2 separate regions of the Homo sapiens genome follow, and region 2 is linked to region 1. Evidence: promoter capture Hi-C in 16 types of primary human blood cells and fetal thymus (Javierre and others, 2016). All regions are on one chromosome and are shown on one strand. Each heading gives the region's core, a stretch centred on a gene start or on the middle of the fragment in contact. The rest is flanking DNA. Distances are from core to core; before and after follow the strand shown.

Evidence for each region. The method cuts DNA at HindIII sites, captures the fragments that hold promoters and counts their contacts. A CHiCAGO score of 5 or more calls a contact.
Region 2: a fragment that was not itself captured here is called in contact with the fragment with the promoter of CACNA2D2 in region 1 in 1 of 17 cell types (total B cells); the score reaches 5.2 in total B cells.

Annotation. Positions count from the first base shown.
Region 1 is chr3:50,501,655-50,506,817 of GRCh38, forward strand. CACNA2D2 (calcium voltage-gated channel auxiliary subunit alpha2delta 2) reads right to left here and starts at 1,980. Exons shown (of 38, transcript NM_006030.4): 1 at 1,564-1,980. The coding sequence starts at 1,769. RefSeq lists enhancers at 2,091-2,599, 2,600-3,108. The HindIII fragment of the contact is 14,978 bases long and covers 1-5,163 here.
Region 2 is chr3:51,367,489-51,372,651 of GRCh38, forward strand. The region is part of intron 49 of DOCK3 (dedicator of cytokinesis 3); the gene reads left to right. Among named protein-coding and RNA genes, the nearest start is that of MANF, 15 kb to the right of the region's middle. The HindIII fragment of the contact is 1,173 bases long and covers 1,914-3,086 here.

The DNA of each region.
Region 1 (5,163 bases), core at 730-3,229:
GAGACATCCACTTAAACCTTCACTCAAGGAGCTATGAAACGGCTAAGAAAAAAATAATTGTGGCTTGGCTCGTGCTTGGCTTTGAGGAAGAAAGAACAACAAAAAAATAATGCTTTTGCTTTTTTTAAGCACTATGATTGAAGTCCATTTCCATCACGGCAAATGAAAGACAATAACGCATCCACCAGCCCTGAACTTCCATTCGATTCTTTTCTCCCTGGGCAACCCCCAAACACACATGTGAAAAATCCAGACGGTTGACAGAGGACACGTCCGTGCGGCACTTGTAATTTGCCAACTGATCACCTGCCTGAGCACAGCCAGGCTGTGCAATGAGAGAGACGACAAGACGGAGAGAGAGACCCAGAGAGGCGGTTTTCCTGAGTTTGTTTTTCCCTCATCTTAGAGAGCCTACGAACTGGAGTCGGCAGGTTTTGTGGCAGAACCAGGGGCTCTTACCCTTGGGCAGAGCTGGTTTAAATGACGCAGAGCCAGCCTCTCCCTTTCCCCGAGGCCAGACCCTTCCCCTTGGCCACCAGCAGCCCGACGACTCATGCCCCAGTCTCCAGGCCAGGACACTGGTGAAGGAGTCCAGGGACAGGTGGCTCCTCAGACCCGGAGACAGATAACAGAAGCAAGGTGGTCACCGTGCCCCAAAGGGGGTCTGGGCACTGACATAGGGCTGAAGCACAGTGTCAGGAAACTGATACGTCCTAAAGGCCACATGCACTGAACATCCACTCCCAGCCCCAGACACATCTGGCTAAGCTCACCCGTAGGAGGCAGCCCGAGTTTGCTGGCTCTTGGGGAGGAGGAGAAGGCTCAGAAGGACCAAAAAACCTGCGGAGGCTGGCAGAGCCAGGAGAAGCTATTACTCTGTTGGCAGCAGCAGCAGGCGCAGGCAGGGGTCCTTCCCACCATTCACCTTCTGCCCGGACCCCAACGCCTTCACCTCCCAACTGGGCTCTCCAGGGTACTCTCTCCTCAGGTGGAGGGGGGCCAAGAACAGGGGACACTGCCTCTGTGGCACTGGCCACAGCAAGAAGGTGCTCGCATCATCAGCATACAGCTCCCCACTAAAGGAAAAGGCCCTTGAAGGCAGGTGTGGAGATGTCCCTCACCTCTGGCTGTAAAGCGCCGGATTCCCACCAGGGAGGGAACGTGGGGCAGATGCGCGGCTCCAACTCCGCCGGACAGGGGTCGCTGGCCGCCCCTCTCACCCAACCCGGGTTTCCCTCTCACCGGGTCAGCGGCAGGGGAATCAGCTGACAAGCTCGGACCGCCCCCCCCCAACTCCTCCCGGGGCTTGAAGATCTTGCCTTGCCTCATTCGGGGGATTTGGGGGAAGCAGGGGCACCGCGGGGAAGTTTCGCGACGCAGCCAGAGCGCCGGGACCGCGGCTGCCAGCCTTCGGGGCTTGGGGCCGTCGCCCCCGGGCGCAGCGGGCAGCCGGACCCAGCGCCTCTGCCCTGGCGCGGAGCGCAGGGAAGGAGTAGCGCGGACCGGGGGCAGAGCGGGGCGCAAGGCTCGGCCGGGGTCTCGCGGCCGGCCGAGGCCACTTACGTGTGCTGCTGGGGGAAGCTGTAGGCAGAGGCGCCGGGGGCGGCGAGCAGCGGTAGAAGCGGCAGCAGCAGCCACAGCGGGCGCGGGGGCCCGGACGTCGGGCGCCGGGTGCCGGGGCCAGGGTGGGGGCCGCAGCCGGGCCAGGGGCGCGCAGTCCGCGCTGGGCCGGGCCGAGAGGCGCCGCAGGTCCGAGCCGGCACCGCCATGTTTCCATTCAAGATGCGGCGCCGCGGGGAGGGGGGGCAGTGGCGGCGGCGGCGGCGGCGGCGGGGTTGGGGGGGCGCGGGCGGCGGGCGGTAACTCGGCCTCTCCTCCGCCGCCGCCTTCTCCGCGAGGGGCCTCCGGGGCTGCACGGGCCGCAGCGCCTCTGCGGGCTGCGCGCTGCTATCTCCCTGCAGCGCTGGCTCCAAGCGCTCTGAGCGCCCGGCCCGGGACCTGCGCTCAAATAGCAGCCGCCGCCAACCTGCCGGCACCGCCCTCTTCTCTCCCTCCCTCCCTCTCTCTTCCCGGGCTGGCCCGCCCCCGCGCGCCCCCGCCGCGGCCACGCGCCCACCCGTGCCCGCGCGCCTCTCGTCCCCGCGCAGCCCGAATCCTGCCCTACTGGCTCGGGCGTCCTGCGCCCCAGCTGCTACCCGAGCGCCCCGGGTGCGCCCCCGCCCCCACACCTCAGACCCTGCCGCTCCTCCCCACCCCACCCGCGGGAAGAGTCCCGGGCCCCGCGGCCCAAGGCAGGAGCATATGTGACCCTTTTGGGGGCTCGACCTTCAACAGGCTTAAGGCCTAGAGTCACAGGTTTAATGGTGGAGTGACAGCTTCAGCGGAGACCAGAAAAGGAGGCATGCTGAACTTACAGCCCCCGTGGCTCTAGCTATCTTTAAGATTTCTCTCTGTCGGGGGCTTGCACGCCCGGCTGCTGGCAGAAAGGGCCTGGACCTCCTGGTTCCCTAAGCGGAAACCTGGGCACGGCTGTACGGTTGTGGGGGGCTGGGGACGGCAGGATGCAGCCCTCTGCAGCCACTCGCTTCGCTTCCCTGGGCTGAACAGGCACTGTGTGCAGGCCTGTCCCAAGCCCCAGTTCCCGGAGTTTGCACAGCCTCTGTTTAGATTCTTCCAGAGCCAGGAAGCTCATCTCTGCACAACCCAGTCCTTTCTGTCCTGGAGGCCCCTGGCTCTTCCCTGCTGTGGGCAGAAGACTGGGGCTGGTGTCAACCTTGACTCCACAGCTTGTGGCCCTTTCAGAGCCTCAGTGTCCTCGCTTGTGAATGCTTGTGTGGGTGCCCACTCCCATTTCCAGGATGAAGTGAGAATGGGGAGAATCTCTTGGTAAACTGAAGCATTCACAATGAGGGGAGACCATCCCTAGGATTCTACTGAAGTTACCCTGGAACCCAGCTCTGCCTCTGGTGCAGATAGGATGAGAGAATGCTCCCCACCAACTTGACACAGGGCAGGACCCCCTCAGCAATAACTGCCCACAGACCTGGCCTATCACGAGGAATGAGGGATAGTAACCAGCTGGGCAGGATGGTTCGGAAATGTCCAGATGCCCCACCTCATGGTATCAGTGGCTCTCCTATCACCCACTCACAAGTCAGCCCAAGGAGGGCTTGCAGTTGAAAGGGAATAGTAGCCCCTGGACTGAAAAGGGTAGGGGTAGGGGCTGGAAATAGGGCCTAGGACAGCCTTCCCTTGCTGCCTAGTCCTGCCTTGGCTTCTCCAATCCCAGCAAACCAGGGCTTGACAGGGAACAGTTTCCTTCATTTCTTGAAGTGTCCTCCTCCCTTGACCTGAATGAGCCTTCAGGGGCCAGACAGGTTTGCCAGCAGATCCCAAACCATGAGACCCCAAAAAAAGTATCAGAGGAAGGCAACGCAGGGGCCAGGGGCCTGGTGGACAGGTGGGACCTGATGGACTATGGGAGACGATAGTCCAGCTCTTTGGGGGGACAAGCAGGGTCCTCACTGAGCCAGTTGCCCCCCTGCCACCTCTGGACACAATGGGAGGGCAGGGGGGCAGGGGTCCTGCTCAGGAGTCGACAAGCGTGAGCTCAACAGCTGCCTTCCCAGCCCTGCCTGCTGAGACCTGTTCCCAGCATCTCTGTCTTCCTCATGCCCAAGGTAGGGCTGGCCTGTGATATCCTCTCTTACCTGTTTGCTGGACATATAATACCTGTGCCCATGGCCCCAGGGGACCATCATAAAGGACATCATTCCTCTTGGGTGCCCTGTCGGGGGTGGGCGCCTTCCCAAGGCAGACTCTGCAGTGGCCTGAGAAATGTGAGGGCCAGCCTCCCTGCCCTCCAACACCAGGGTAGCAACGCTATCCCCAAAGTGCCCAGGCCGTCAGGCACATGAAGTCAGTCTAGGTACAGTGGGTGGGTTTTGGCAGTTGGGTATTTCAGTTCTAGCCTCCACAGATGTGCATCTAATTGAGGCTGCTGGCACCAAGGGAAAGGCGGGAGATTTTGGTTGACAGGCCGTTAAAGGAAGACAAATAAGGAGGGGGGGGGTAATTAAGAGTAAACAAGTGGTAAGTGTTTACGAATTATAACTTTTGAGGCTTACAACATCCTCAGCCCTCTTGGTGGCTGGCTACAGCCACACGTTAAGATCTTGGGAGAAAAATTTGAGCCTTCCCAAGGAATAGGGGGACTTCCATGGCAGGCACATTGGTAAATGTGGGGCTGCCCACCTGGCCCAAGTTGCCTGTGCTGGAAGACGTAGGGTGGCAGGGGCAGGTGAAGCTACCCTGACAGGGGGCCTGGTAGGTGCCAGTTCTGCATGGGAGGTCAGCTCAGCAGGTCAGAAGAGACTGATAGAGCCATAGGGAGAAACTACTATGTGCCAAGCAGGCCATGGGCTCAGTTGTGCCACTCGAGGCCCGTCCCAAGCCCCAGCTCCCGGGGTTTGCACAGCCTCTATTTAGATTCTTCCAGAGCCAGGAAGGTCATCTCTGCACACCCTAGTCCTTTCTGTCCTGGAGGCCCCTGGCTCTTCCCTGCTGTGGGGAGAATACTGGGGCTGGTGTCAACCTTGACTCCACAGCTTGTGGCCCTTTCAGAGGAAGCCCATCAGGAACATCCAGGACGCCTGTGGTGGCAAGATTTTCACCCTAGCCTGCCCCGCGCCCAGTCTCACCTTTTACCAACAGGCTGGACAGCTCCTTATTCAGAGAAAACTCCTGCCTCGGGCTTTACTCCTGCAGTTCCTCCTGCCTGGAACACCCTCTTTTACCTCTACCATTTGAACTCAAGATATTTATGAGCCCATTAATACCACTTATACCAGGAAGCCTTCCTGGGGTACTACCACCCCCAACTGGATGGGCCTCCTCCTCTTGGTCCTGTCCCTCCTGCTTCCTGCCCCGGCCAGTAGTATGCTGTGGCCTCTGCCTTGGGTTCAGAAACACACCTGCACTCTGGCCTCTTTTTTTTGAGACAGTGTCTCACTCTGTCGCCAGGCTGAAGTGCAATGGCATGATCTCGGCTCACTGCAACCTCCAACTCCCTGGTTCAAGTGATTCTCCTGCCTCAGCCTCCTCAGTAACTGGGATTACAGGCACGTGCCACCGCACCCAGCTAATTTTTGTATTTTCAGTAGA
Region 2 (5,163 bases), core at 1,250-3,749, 870 kb after region 1:
CATTTAAGGTTAATATTGTTATGTGTGAATTTGATCCTGTCATTATGATGTTAGCTGGTTATTTTGCTCGTTAGTTGATGCAGTTTCTTTGTAGCGTTGATGGTGTTTACAATTTGGCATGTTTTTGCAGTGGCTGGTACCGGTTGTTCCTTTCCATGTTTAGTGCTTCCTTCAGGAGCTCTTGTAAGGTAGGCCTGGTGGTGACAAAATCTCTCAGCATTTGTTTGTCTGTAAAGGATTTTATTTCTCCTTCACTTATGAAGCTTAGTTTGGCTGGATATGAAATTCTGGGTTAAAAATTCTTTTCTTTAAGAATGTTGAATATTGGCCCCCACTCTCTTCTGGCTTGTAGAGTTTCTGCTGAGAGATCTGCTGTTAGTCTGATGGGCTTCCCTTTGTGGGTAACCTGACCTTTCTCTCTGGTGGCCCTCAACATTTTTTCCTTCGTTTCAACTTTGGTGAATCTGACAATTATGTGTCTTGGAGTTGCTCTTCTTGAGGAATATCTTTGTGGTGTTCTCTGTATTTCCTGAATTTGAATGTTGGCCTGCCTCGGTAGGTTGGGGAAGTTCTCCTGGATAATATCCTGAAGAGTGTTTTCCAATTTGGTTCCATTCTCCCCATCATGAATAGGAACACAACGAGTCTGCAGCTCCCAGTGTGACTGACACAGAAGACAGGTGATTTCTGCATTTCCAACTGAGGTACTGGGTTCATTTCACAGGGGCTTGTCAGACACTGGGTGCAGCCCACGGAGCAGGGCGGGGCATTGCCTCACCCAGGAAATGCAAGGGGTCGGGGAGTTACCTTTCCTAGCAAAGGGAAGCCGTGACAGATGGTACCTGGAAAATCGGGACACTCCCACCCTAATACTGCGCTTTTCCAGTGGCCTTAGCAAAGGGCTCACCAGGAGATTATATCCTGCGCCTGACTCAGGGGATCCCACACCCATGGAGCCTCTCTCACTGCTAGCACAGCAGTCTGAGATTGAACTGCAAGGAGGCAGTGAGGCTGTGGGAGGGGCATCCGCCATTGCTGAGGCTTGAGTAGGTAAACAAAGCGGCTGGGAAGCTCGAACTGGGTGGAGCCCACTGCAGCTCAAGGAGGGCTGCCTGCCTCTGTAGCCTCCACCTCTGGGGGCAGGGCATAGCTGAACAAAAGGCAGCAGAAACTTCTGCAGACTTAAACGTCCCTGTCTGACAGCTTTGAAGAGAGTAGTGGTTCTCCCAGCATGGAGTTTAAGATCTGAGAACGGACAGACTGCCTCCTCAAGTGGGTCCCTGAACCCTCAGGAGCCTAACTGGGAGGCACCTCCCAGTAGGGGGCGACTGACACCTCATATGGCAGGGTGCCCCTCTGAGACAAAGCTTCCAGAGTGAAGGATCAGAAAGCAACATTTGCTGTTCTGCAGCGTCCACTGTTGATACCCAGGCAAACAGGGTCTGGAGTGGACCTCCATCAAACTCCAACAGACCTGCAGCTGAGGGTCCTGACTGTTAGAAGGAAAACTAACAAACAGAAAGGACATGCACACAAAAACCCCATCTGTACGTCACCATTATCAAAGACCAAAGGTAGATAAAACCACAAAGATGGGGAGAAACCAAAGCAGAAAAGCTGAAAATTCTAAAAATCAGAGCACTTCTCCTCCAAAGGAACGCAGCTCCTCGCCAGCAATGGAACAAAGCTGGATGGAGAATGACTTTGACAAGTTGAGAGAAGAAGGCTTCAGATGATCGGTAATGACAAACTTATCCGAGCTAAAGGAGGATGTTTGAACCCATTGCAAAGAAGCTAAAAACCTTGAAAAAAGAGTAGATGAATGGCTAACTAGAATAAACAGTGTAGAGAAGTCCTTAAATGACCTGATGGAGCTGAAAACCATGGCATGAGAGTGACGTGATGCATGCACAAGCTTCAGTAGCCGATTCGATCAACTGGAAGAAAGGGTATCAGTGATTGAAGATCAAATGAATGAAAATGAAGCGAAAAGAGAAGTTTAGAGAAAAAAGAGTAAAAAGAAATGAACAAAGCCCCCAAGAAATATGGGACTATGTGAAAATCTACGTCTGATTGGTGTAATAGCACAAATGTATGACTTGGGAAGTCATTAAGAAAAGAAGCTCTCTAAAGCACACAAACCCATGAAGCCCACAGTAGGAGTGATGGAGAGAAGCCCACAGTAGGAGTGATGGAGAGAAGCCCACAGTAGGAGTGACTGCTGTATGGCACAGTGAAAAGATGCAGTGACCACCTGGGAAAAGCCTTGGCAGATTGTAGAGGGAAGTGGAGTAAGGTTGCAGCAGGCACAGTCAGACTTCACCTGAAGTATTCAGACCAAGCCCTCATTTCCAGGGCAAGGGAATTAAGGCCACCTAGCCAGTTCACAGCCAAGCTAAGTTTGGGGCACAGATCTTTACACTCACCAGCCCTCACTCTCATGCCCATTCCACTGCCCATATTGCCTCCCTAGCATGGACTCTGAGGTCAGAAAAGGGGAGCCAGCATTTGAAAGCAGACATTTCTAGTACTAAATAGGACAAATGAACCAAAAGATCGGTGCATGCTGAAGATTTGTCAGTATGTGAAAGCTGCAGACATAGAGAAGGAGCAGTGATATGTGTTATCAAGAAGGCACACTGAAAGACGGCCTTGGGAATAAAAAGAAAAGAAACCCTGAGCCATGAGTGCCACAGTCAAGGTTGGCATTTATAGTGTCTTCAGGTAAATAGTCCTGAATAGAGCTGCAGAAACAGTTTCTGTAATCCCTTCTGGTTTTGTTTTTTTCCCTAACCTAAAGCGTCTCTAAGATATGTTCTGACATATCTAAGACTTTATCTGGTATTCTTGCTGAGGACAGATCTCTGAATCATGATGATTGATAAACACAGAAGGCAACCAAGGATGGACATTTGAACTCAAATGCACTCTGACATTGGTCAGACACTTCCTCTAGGCTGTTCCAGATACTTAGTGTCCTGAAAAGAAGAAAGAGGAGGAATAAGCAGGCCCTGCTCTTGGGGACCTCACAGGCTGGCGGTTACCACCTTTTCCTTCCAGCCGTTGACTGATTTATTCACTTATCAAGCTTTTACTGAATGCTCAGTGAGGAACCTGCATGGCTCTTGCCACGGGGGCAGGTGGTGCACTATGTCAGTGCTGAATAGAGAGAAATTATCTTCTTGTCTGGAAATAACTCATTTTTACTTCAAATGGCTTGGTTATCTGTTGCTGCATAATAAGCCACCCCCAAAACTTCTTAAAACAATCTATTATCATCTCTTATTCTGTGGGTTTACAGGGCTCACTGAGCAATTCTCACTTGGTGTCAGATGTCACTGGCTGGAATCATCTAAAAGCTCAGGTGGGCTAGATATTCGAGATGGCTCACATACATGGCTGGCAATTGATGCTGGTGGTCAGCTTGGGGTGCGACTGGGGCTGTCAACTTGAGCTCCTACATATGACCTTTCCATGTGACTTAGGCTTCTCACAGCATGGCAGCTGATTTTCCCCAGAGAAAGCATTCCAAGAGACCCAGGAAGAAGCCTCAAGGCTCGTTTTTACCCAGCCTTGGATGTCCCAGGAAGTCCCCACGTTTCTAGTCTCCTCAAGTCACTAATGTCAACCCAGATACCAGAAAGAGGAATGAGATTACACCTCATGTTGTAAGGAATGGTGTGTGTGTTTTGGGACAGAAGGTGTTGATGGTCACCATTTTTGGAGATGAGCTGTCACAATGGCCAAACTCCAGAATATCACACAGAGGAAGGCTGAGAGAAGCCCCTTCCCTTTTGGGGGTAAACATTAAGTGCAAAAATAAACAAAATGGTTAAACAGAACTGGGCCCAAAGAGAACAGTGACAAGATCAGAGGCAGTAAGAAAGAAAGCAAGTCCCTTCTAGACCACAACTTCCATACCATCCATGTGCAGGCTCATCTGGAGAAAGGTGCAGGTCCTACATCTATCAAGCACAGTGTTAGGCCCTGGGAGACAAAATAGAAGGGTCTGTGTGACATGGCATCATAGAGAAAGACTGATACTTTCAAATGTATGTAATAGATGTTGTAGTAGATACACTCTGGGCAAAGAAGGGAGGAAACAGTCCACTCTGTTTGAAGTTTGTGTTTGGTATTACCAGGGAGGGGAAAGCTTTCGTAAAGGTGATCTTGAGGGAAGCCTTTGCATTGGGGTTACTTCCCCCACTCCCAAGAGTGGTCATGAGACCAGTGGTCTTCCTTGCCATACCCATGGACACTGCTGTGATTCCTGTTGCTTTGGAAATGTCTGAGAGGAATGGCCTGCAAGGCCCCTCACACGGATCAGGATATTGAGTATGCAGATGTGGGGTTTTCTTTATGAGCCAGGCTGTGAGCTCCATGAGGTGAGAGACCACGGACAACCTGAGCAAGACAGTATACAAGGTTCCAATCACATGCTTGGTGTGGAATGGGCATTAGATATGGGTTTGATGTTACTGAGTTGGTCTAAAGGTGCTGTGTGTTTTTCGGTGCATACTGAACAGAGAGTAGTCCTGTCTAGAGCTGTGGGCTGCAATGCTCAGGAAGCATTCTGAGAGTTTCTTGCTGGGAAAGCACTGTATCGGTCAATGAGAATAGGTGCTTTTTTCACCTAAACTCTTGTGAGTTGACAGCTCCCCCTGCTGATCAAAAGGCTGATTGGAGCTAGGAAACAGGGATTTTGAATAATCCTTAAGTAATTCGTTGACACTGGGGTTTACTAGACTACAACTCACATAATTCAGAAGTCCCATGAACACAGAAACCCTTGTGTTGTTCAAATGTTTTCATGAAAAGTAACCATCACCTTCTCCTACCATGGGATTGGCTGCCCAGGGCAGAGGGCAGGGGGAGGGAAGTGAAGTGGTAGAGTTAAAAATTTTAGTGGTGGCACAGAGCACCCCTTTGTGGCCACCATAGCCCAGAGAGACCACCATAACATGAGTCTGAATCTTCAGCAGAGCCCCTGAGCCCTGGCTACAGCCTTCAGGCTGCTATATCTCCATCCTAACCCCCTCACACGGATCAGGATATTGAGTATGCAGATGTGGGGTTTTCTTTATGAGCCAGGCTGTGAGCTCCACGAGGTGAGAGACCACGGACAACCTGAGCAAGACAGTATACCAGGTTCCAATCACATGC